Linked DNA regions of Homo sapiens: region 1 is linked to region 2. The links are contacts of gene promoters, found by promoter capture Hi-C in blood cells and fetal thymus (Javierre and others, 2016). All regions are on one chromosome and are shown on one strand. The core of a region is centred on a gene start or on the middle of the fragment in contact, and the rest is flanking DNA. Distances in the headings are between cores, read along the strand shown.

Evidence for each region. The method cuts DNA at HindIII sites, captures the fragments that hold promoters and counts their contacts. A CHiCAGO score of 5 or more calls a contact.
Region 1: a contact is called between a fragment that was not itself captured here and the fragment with the promoter of MAB21L1 in region 2, in 1 of 17 cell types (megakaryocytes). The highest score is 6.1, in megakaryocytes.

The regions. Positions count from the first base shown.
Region 1 is chr13:35,215,425-35,220,707 of GRCh38, reverse strand. All of the region lies in intron 33 of NBEA (neurobeachin), which reads right to left. Among named protein-coding and RNA genes, the nearest start is that of MAB21L1, 260 kb to the left of the region's middle. The HindIII fragment of the contact is 420 bases long and covers 1,213-1,632 here.
Region 2 is chr13:35,474,613-35,479,740 of GRCh38, reverse strand. MAB21L1 (mab-21 like 1) reads left to right here and starts at 3,052. Exons shown (of 1, transcript NM_005584.5): 1 at 3,052-5,128. The coding sequence starts at 3,603. The coding sequence ends at 4,682. All of the region lies in intron 41 of NBEA (neurobeachin), which reads right to left. RefSeq lists enhancers at 170-966, 3,480-4,476. The HindIII fragment of the contact is 3,631 bases long and covers 2,153-5,128 here.

The DNA of each region.
Region 1 (5,283 bases), core at 173-2,672, 260 kb after region 2:
AAAGAAAATCCACAGCGCCTGAAAACATCATAGTAAAACTTATCAACTCCCAAAATACAGAACACCTTTAAAACAGACATCAGGTGGGTTGGAGTGGAGAACAGAAACAATATGACTAGGAATTAACCTATAAAATAAATAAATAAAACACAGAATGAAAAAAGCCAAAAGACAATAAAATGATATTTTCAAAGCACTATAAGAAAATAATTGCCAACCTAGAATTCTATTGGTTCAAAATATCCTTTCAAACATCGAGGTGGATTTCCAAGATGTTTAGAGAAATAGGAACTAAAAATTCATGACAGGCAAACCTGCACTAAATCAAATACTAAGAAGCGTTCTTTCAGAAGAAGAAATATGATACTAGGTGGAGGTCAGACATTCAGAAAAGAATGATGAGCAACAAAAAATGATAGTCATTTGGCTAAATCAAAACAGATGTTGACCAATAAAATAAGTATACTTTCTTGCAGGGTGTGAATTTAAGATGAACATGCACACATGCATACATATGTACATGTATGTCTGCAAAATTTGGGGTAAATTAAGTTAAACTAGAGTAAGGAAGGGCCATGCATTGTCTGGGAATAGGACCTCGATAAATCAAGGATAACTCCTGCGATGTGGAGGATTATCAATTACACACTGTTTCTCAAAGTGTGTATTCTGGACCAGCAGCATCAGCATGATCTAGCATCGTGGTTAATTTTATGGGTCAATTTTACTGGGTGTCCAGATATTTGATTAAACAGCACTCTGGGTATGACTGTGAGGGTATCTATTGATAAGATTAACATTTGAATAGGTAGACTGCCCTCCTTCATGGAAGAAGGCTTCATCTAGTCAGTTGAAGATATGAATAGAACAAAAAAGTTGAGCAAACTCCTTCTGCCTGAATGTTTGAGCTAGGAGTACTGGTCTCTTCTTGGCCTTTGGACTCAGACGGAAACATCGGCTCTTCTTCAGTCTTGAGCCAGCCAGCTTTTGGATAGGAACTTGTATCACTGGCTCTCTTGGTTCTCCGACCTTGGTACTTTGATTAGAACTACACATTGGTTCTCCTGGGTCTTTAGCATACTAACTGCAGATACTGGGAATTTTCAGTTTCCATAATCATGTGAGCCAAATTTTTATAATAAATCATGTGTATATGCATGTATATTCATATGAATGTAAACATCCTATTTAATCTGTTTCTCTAAATAAGCTTGACTAACACACCTAAAAACTTGTTAGAGGTGCCCTAAATTCTCATGCCCTACTGGAGTCCTACTGAATTAGGTATCCAGCAATCTGTATGTTAACAAGCCCTCTATGTTATTCTGATGCATGCTGATGTTAGAAAACTACTGCACTAAGGAAACAAACAATGTACAACTTTCAACTTAACCGTTTCTTGTTATTTCTCTCTAGACATTTTTTTGGCAATATGAATAAAACTGATTAATCACTGCCAGAGCTTATCAAGAAAAGGAAGGAAGGCAAGGAAGGCAAGGAAGGCAAGGCAGGAAGGCAGGAAGGCAGACAAGCTGGCTAGCTTAAATAAAGAATATCAAGATTAAAAAGAAGGGACATTACTACAGATTATATGAATGTTAAAAGAATAACACAATAATATTATGAAAAGCTTTATGCCAGCAAAAACCTAACAAAGCTGACACCAGAAAAAAATAGAAAATTTTGGGAGATCTGTAACTAATTAAATTGAAATTTTAATTAAGAAACTTTCCTAAAAGAAGAGATCCAGGATTAGGTGTCTTTGCTTGTGAAGTTTACTAAATATTTCAGGGGAAAAAATAAAAAAATAATCTTATAGAAGCTTTCAAGAGATAAATCTATTTCACATTACAATGAAATTGGATTTCTTACAGAAATTGAGAATTCTTTTAGCATTTAAAAATTAAATCAATATAGTATACCATGTTAACAGAAGGAGAAAAACCACATGATCATCTTAGTGTATATTTAAAAAGCATAAGATAAACTTCAACATACGTCATGATAGCAAGTTTTTGTTAATTACAAATATAAGAGATGTATAACATTTATTGAAAATTATATATAATTAATAGGTAAGAAGCATCATAGTTAATGATAAATGTTCAATGTTTTTCATCTGAGATGAAGAATTTAAAAAGAATGCCTGCTATAACCATGACTATAATAAATTGCATTAGAGGTACTGGGTGGCACTGTAAGTTCAGAAAAAGAAATTAAAAGGTGCAAGGATTTTAATGGGAGAAAAAACTCCCCCATTATTCGTGGATGACAGAATTATGTATATACATATACATTTTGAAACAATCTATAGAAAAATAATTAGGAATAATAAGTGAGTTAACATTTCAGGATATTCTGTCAACATACTGAAAGGGAAACAATTAAAAGAATTAAAATTTATAAAAGAAATCATTGACAACATGATAAGAATATAAAATTCATTTGTAGCCTTGAAAAAGTAAGATGGTCTAAAATTACCTTCCATGCTAACAGTTAAAAATATTAGACAAATACAGGGAACAACTATTTTCAGGCAATACAGGGAGTACAGGACTATGAACCCTAAGGACAGGGAAACCAATGAGGTGAGCTCCCCCATCATCCATGTTTCCTTTATGGAGGTATTTCCTATATTATGGCAAATACTGAGTCCTGCAATGTTTTTGAGTTGACACGACTGAGACTGTAGTTCAAAACGGCCAAGGTGAATAGAATTTGCAGAACAGAGTCCCTGAGAGGAGGAAGCTATGAAGAAAAAAATTTCCCAAAACCTGAGTCTTAGGCTGAATAGCAATCTACTTATGTGAAGCCTGAAAGCTCCAAGGGCTAGAATAGAATAATTTTTTGAAAAGAATAATTATGAAGGAGCTGCAACACAAACATCACTGAGAGTGCATAGTGCTGGGAATAGTCTGTATTCCCTCCAGCCAGAAAGGAGAGATCTCATTAAATACACTGAGCATTCAGGAGAAATTCTAGCAAGTCTACCCTTTCTAAGTGTGGCAAAAGCAATCCAAGAAGAGAGGCCTCTCTAAATTTGCCTTAAAAGGTCTTAAAAACATGCCTCATGGGCAAGGATAGCCTTTTCAACAAATGGTGCTGGAACAAATGAACATTCATAGGCAAAAATGTGTACCTCAACCTAAACCTCACACCTTACACAGACATCAGCTCAAAATAGATCACAGACTTAAAAGTAAAACAACTTTTAAACCACAAAACTTTATAGAAAATACAATATAAATTTTGGGAAAGTAGAGGTAGGTGAAGAGCTCTTAGACATGACACCAAAAGCTTAACTATAAAAAGGTAAATCTGACAAGCCAGATTAAAAAAAATTTAAATTTTTCTCTGCTAAAAAACCCATTAAAAGGATGAAACAGGGAGCACGTCTAAGATAAAATATTTGCAAACTAAATTTCTAAAAAAGGACTTGTATTTGAATATAACAAAAACTCTCAGAGTTCAAAAGTTAAACAGTGATCCAATTAAAAAATAGGCAAAAGACATGAACAGACAATTCATGAAGGAGACATATTGATGGAAAATAAACACAAGAAAAGATGTTCTGCATATTTATCCATTAGGAAAATGCAAATTCAGACCACAGTAAGATATCACTACATACTATCAGAATGCTTAAAAAAATGCTGGTAACAATGAGGAGAAACTGGACCACTCACACATTGCCAGTGGAAACATAAAGTGGTTAAGCCACTCTAGAAGACAGTTTTGCAGTTTCTTATAAAACTAATCATATACTTACCATAGAGCAAGTAATCTCACTCTTGGGTACTTATCCCAGAGAAACAAAAATGTATGTTCACATAAAAACAGATGTCCACTGTAACTTTATTTTTAATAGCCCCAAACTGGAAAAAAACTTAAATGTCCTTTAGTAGGTGTATGTTTAAACAAACTGTCATCCGTACCATAGAATATGACTGAGAAATAAAAAAGGAACATACTATTAATTCATGCAACAATTTGAATGGATTGCATGGCAGTATTTTTAGTGAAGGAAGATAAATGTCAAAATGCACCTCTGTAAAGTGTATGAATCCAAGAAGAAATAGGGAAAATTAGAAAAAAATATTGAATTGAATATAAAAAATACTACATTTGTACAATACAGGTAAAACTGTGCTTGGAGGAAAAGTTATGGCTTTAAATGCTCATATACCATATCATTAAACAAGAAAGTTCTAAAATCAAAGATCCAAGAGAGGGGCTGGGAAACATCTGTAAAGGATAAGACAGTAAATATTTTAAGCTTTAGGCCATATCGTCTCTGTTCCAACTATTTAACTCAGTCACAGTAATGTGACAGCAGTGATAGGCAATACATAAGCAAATGAGTGTGGCTGTATTCCAATAACTTTATGTACAAAGCTGGTGGCAGAATGATTTGGCCCATGGTCCACAGTTTATAGACACTCAATCTCAGTTTCCACTCTAAGATATGGGAAGAAAAAAGCAAGCAAACGTGATGTAAATAGAAAGGAGTAATAAGAGCAGAATTCACATAATAGAAAAAAAACACTCTAAAAATATTAATGAACACAGTATCATTTTTGGGGGGAAATCATAATATTGAAAAGCAATAGCTATTCTGATAATGAAAAAATGAGAAAAAACAAAATAACAAAATCTGAAATGAAAGAGGGAACATCATTAGGGATCATGCTTATATTTTAAAATATTAATAATAAAATTTTTAAAATTACAAAGAATTTATGGCAATAAATCCAACAACTTAGATAAGATGGGTAAATTCATTGAAGACAAAAATAACAAAACAGATACAAAAATAAATATACTATCTGGATACTCATTTATCAATTAAAAAAACTAAATCTATAATTTAAATTTTCCCAGAAAGAAAATTCCAGGCAGAAATGGCTGTACTGGTGAATTCTCAAACATTTTAGGATAAATAATACTAAAGCTACAAGTGACATTATCTCATGCATAGAAAATAATAAGGAAACTACAGAAAGTGTTAGATCGATTATGTGAGTTTAGAAAGTTCTAAACAACTTACCACGTTTACTAAAAGTAAGTGGCAAGATTATAAAATATAAAATCAATATATAAAAATCAATGTACTAATACAAAATTATCCCCTTTTTTCAGTTTTATTGAGGTAAAATTGACACAGGCAATCACTGATTTGCTATTTTTTAAGATAAATTAATTTGCATTTCCTATAATTTCATAAAAATGGAATCATACACTATGTACTCTTTTTGGTCTGGCTTCTAACTCCCAATTGGAAAT
Region 2 (5,128 bases), core at 1,803-4,302:
TATAACTGGAGTTTTTTAAAAAAACTTTTCACATTAATACATAAATGTATATTAAGCCATCTCTATGTACTACATAATCATTTGACATAACTAGTTTAATAGGTCAAATGATATTTTTTTAAAATTCACTGAAAAATAGTTAAATATATTACTCCCATAAAATAAATATATCCCCCAAGCCTAGATTAAAATCGGCTGAACTGCACAAAAATGTACTGTTATTTGCAATCCCTCTCTATAGGTCATTTCCATAAAAAAATTTCGGGGATGGAAAACACGCTTCTCCGAATAGCTTAATTCTCGCTTCAACAATGAGGGGCGTCTACGATCACTGAAAGGATTCAGCTACAGAAGGCAATTCATTTCACGTGTTCAGTGTAATAGAAAATCACTGTGTTGCAGCAACAAGCAGTACTTGCACTAGAGTATTATTCATTCCAGGGCGCCCAGTTCACCCACAGTGATAATCGCGGACCGGTGAATCCTATGTTATGTAAATCACCTTCAGCTCCTTGTGTGAGGGGTGCTTAAGGAAGCAGCTTAGAAAACACAGTCCTGGCGTCCTTTAAACTAAATGACTTCACTTTCCTGAACACTCTAGATCTAATGAGTTTCCTAGTATACCTTTTCTCACCATCCATTTTTCTTTCTCAAAGTGCAAATCGTTAGTGAAAAGGCGCTGGTTGCACCAATTAGTTTGCACAAAGTGCTTCGGTGTTTAGCTTCGCTTTAACCCAATTAAGCTGCACAGTGAGCCCCGAAGATGCGCCACCTGCGCGCCTGGCTCCAGCCAGGCCCGACCGGCATCCCTCGCAGGCCCGCGTCCTTCCCGTTGGACCCACTTAAGGTCCCCCGAACAGCCCTGGGGCCTCCCCGTCCTCGGCTGTCTCACGTCCTTGACAACCAAGGGTGTTCTGCAGGTGGCCCAAGAAGGCAAGGGGCGAGGTCTTGGGGCAAGCATCTCTGGCCTGAACCCAAGGGAGAGAGCGCAGGGCGCAGGGGCCCGCGGCTGGGGCTTGGCTGCGACCACACCTGGGCCGGACGTGGGCGGTGCAGGCTGAGGGGTGCGTGGGCAGACCGTGGTCTGGAGCAGACGTGGAGAGTAAGCCGGGACACCAAGTAAGGTTTTCAAATAAGCTCACGCAGAAATAAAGCGTAGCGATCTTGAGCCCAGAGAGGAAAGTAAGAGGGCACGGGAATGCGGAGCAGCGAGAGAGAGGCGGCGAGCGGACGGCACAGGGCCACACGCGCCGGGTGAGGGCAGAAGGCGGCGTTTCCCCAGAGACCACTGCACATCCTCGCCGTCGTGGCTGCAGGTTCTCCGGCTCTGATGGGTCTCCCCTCCAACTGCCAAAAGGTAGTGGTGCATTCACCCGCGATGACGGCAAAGTGGGGAGGGGTTTTTTGGGTGTTCCCAGACCCTGCTCTTAAGGGGATGGAAGGTTCTTGGGAAATAGAGTAGCTGGGTGCCACGCACCCCAATGTATACTATTTTCAGCTAAATTGGAATCTATCACTGTTGGATAAGGAGAAATTAAATAATAGGTGGTTTTGTGATGCTGTGCCTGTGCAAAACAAAACACACAAACAAAAATCAAAAGCTTAAGTAGCAAGTGGGAGCCCTGAAGAATATCTTGTTAAAAGTGACTCTGAAAGTGTCTACAAACATGTTACCGGGAGTTATAGGATTTGACGGGAAATATTCTTAATTGGAAAGACGTGGCATCTAAATTAAAGGTAGACAATTAAAAAAATCCACCTAGTTTTAAAAACCACAACGTAACCACTAAGTAGTATTTCTTTAGTTTCCTGTACTTTGAGGACACAACTGGACCACCAACTAGAAAAAAAAATTCCTCCTCCTGTTTCCAGGTTCCAAAATTCAGAAATGAAATGATTTATTTCATTTTTGTTTTCAAAATGATGTTTAAATCCAAAAAACCCCCCAGATAACTGCAAGTTAATTTTCTTTGCAAATGTTAACCATTTTCCCTTAATTAAATCACACGAAATAGTATAAAATTAGAAGTCTACTGCCAGGTCACCACTTAAGGACACTTAAGACAGGAGATATATCCTTAATTATACATCTGTAAACAAGCCAGATACCCCAAACCTTCAATTTTTCGGGATAGTTATCTGTGAGGAAGCTTGATCTCTATGATCTCACCTGAATTTTATGTACTAAAATACAGGTCACTATGAAATAACGCTAAAGTACTCTGTCCATCCCACAGACAATTTATTTTTCAAATGTTTCTATAAGTGCATATATAGCGTTGTGTCCTGCTTGTAATGCTGGGCAAGTCCACCAAAGTGCAAAGACTGCATCTGCTGGGGCAGAGGGATGTACGAAATATTTTTTAAATATCCTAACTTAAACAGGGGTAGAACATCTCACACACTCAGCAATAATTTTCAGATTCAACAAATGGAGAAAAGAAAAAAACATAAGTAAAAAAAGAGCATACTACCTCCATAACGTTTCAAAAAATCATTTTAACATATAGGAACATCCAGAATGAGAAAATTACACAGGTACTCCTCCATCTAAAGCCAACTTCCATATGCCAGTAGTCTGCATGAAAGAACAAACTTTCAACCTGCATTTAAGAAGACCCCAAGGATTAACAGACGTTAATTATCTTACTCTAAATGCAAGTTAGTGATTTTGTTTTAGAAAACCCCGTCAAGATCACTAATTGATGGATGCCCATTAATACACCTGTATTTGCATTTCAGCGGTAAAAGACAAGCAGGTTTTCGGCACAGAAGAGAGCCGCTTTGCCAAGTCTTTTCAAAACGTCAATATGCTTCAAGTAATACCAAAGCTGAGAGATTCCTCTTGATTTCCAAACTGTCTAGGTGGCCTGAGTGGTTTTCCGCCGGCAGCAGCCTCCTACCTTTAGTTTGTGTGCCTATATCCATGAGTGGGGATTAATTAGCCGGGTTGGAGCTGAAGGAGGCTGTCGTGACGAGCCCAGTGGCGATTGGCCGCCCGCCTGCCTGGCCCTGCCTTTATAATTTCCACACGAGTGCATCTGGGCTCTTAGACAAACCAACAGCAGCTTCTTCTGACATATACACACGCACACTCACCCCGGACACACACTCAGCACACTTTTCCTCCATTTGATTAACAGTGCTGCACACACAATGATTACGGGAAAGCGCAAATAAATACGGAAAGGGGTGCTTATTTTGACTACTGGAAGAGCTTTGCTGGGTCTCAGCGCAACTTTTGTTTTTTATTCCTGAGAAGGTGATCTCTCCATGCGGTTCTCTCACACAAGGATTCTTTAAAAGAGGAAGAGAGACAAGCAGAGGGGGGAGGACAGTCTTTCACTTTAAGAACGGCTGGGCTCAAAGATAAAAGGAAGGGAAAAGCAGCAGCAGCAGCAGCAGCAGCAGCAGCAGCAGCAGCAGCAGCAGCAGCAGCAGCAGGGAAACCAACGCTGCAGCACTTCCGAAAGGCATTTTTGATCCATTTCTGAGTGTTGCGGCCCGTTTCTCCACCGAAGTTGGCTCCAGCTCTAGCAGCCGCATTGGATCCCACAGCTTACTGCGAGACTCCGGTGTACAATCCGGATCTCTGCCCCAACATGATTGCGGCCCAGGCCAAGCTGGTCTACCATCTGAATAAATACTACAACGAAAAATGCCAAGCCAGGAAAGCTGCCATTGCCAAAACTATCCGGGAAGTCTGCAAAGTAGTTTCCGACGTACTGAAGGAAGTGGAAGTGCAGGAGCCGCGGTTCATCAGCTCTCTCAACGAGATGGACAATCGCTACGAGGGCCTCGAGGTCATCTCCCCCACCGAATTTGAAGTGGTGCTTTATCTCAACCAAATGGGGGTGTTCAACTTCGTGGACGATGGCTCACTGCCCGGCTGCGCGGTGCTGAAGTTGAGCGACGGGCGCAAGAGGAGCATGTCCCTCTGGGTGGAATTCATTACCGCCTCCGGCTACCTCTCGGCGCGCAAAATCCGGTCCAGGTTTCAGACGCTGGTGGCTCAAGCGGTAGACAAATGTAGCTACCGGGATGTGGTAAAGATGGTGGCAGACACCAGCGAAGTGAAACTGAGAATCCGAGATAGGTACGTGGTGCAGATCACGCCGGCCTTTAAATGCACCGGGATCTGGCCGAGGAGTGCTGCCCACTGGCCACTTCCCCACATCCCCTGGCCGGGACCCAACCGGGTGGCGGAGGTCAAGGCGGAAGGTTTCAATCTCTTGTCCAAGGAGTGCCACTCCTTGGCCGGCAAGCAGAGCTCGGCGGAGAGCGACGCCTGGGTGCTGCAGTTCGCGGAGGCAGAGAACAGACTGCAGATGGGGGGCTGCAGAAAGAAGTGCCTCTCCATCCTCAAAACCTTAAGGGATCGTCACCTTGAACTGCCGGGCCAGCCCTTGAACAATTACCATATGAAGACTCTGGTTTCCTACGAGTGTGAAAAGCATCCCCGAGAGTCGGACTGGGACGAGTCTTGCCTGGGTGATCGGCTGAACGGGATTTTGCTGCAACTTATCTCCTGCCTGCAGTGCCGGCGGTGTCCCCACTACTTTCTACCGAACTTAGATCTGTTTCAAGGCAAACCTCACTCAGCTCTGGAAAACGCTGCCAAACAAACGTGGCGACTGGCAAGAGAGATCCTGACCAACCCGAAAAGTTTGGAAAAACTTTAGAGGATGATTTAATCAAGAGCCGAAATTATTACCCTTCTCAAAGTCCTTATTAAGTGTAAACTTCTGTTCAATTCCTAATATTCCACTCCGCAGTGCAAACAATCTCTTCCTTTAAAAAGGAATAATAATACAATATTTAAACATCATCTCACCCACCCCCACAAGGGGAGAAAAAGTAGGGGAAGCGGATGGAGAAAAACCCAAAGCCACTAGTATTAGAAGACTTCTTTCCACACGATTTCCTATCTCCCTTGAAAAGTACACCGTAACACTCCGTAAACAGCCCAGCTGTAACGCCAGACCGAGACGAACACTCTGCCTAACTATCAAAGGATTATAGCAATCCTGGTGATTTAGGTGCATCTGTCTGTGAGTAAACACGATTTGGATATGCCATCTGAAAGAAACTGTAATGTATATTTTGATTTGTAACAAATATTGTGATC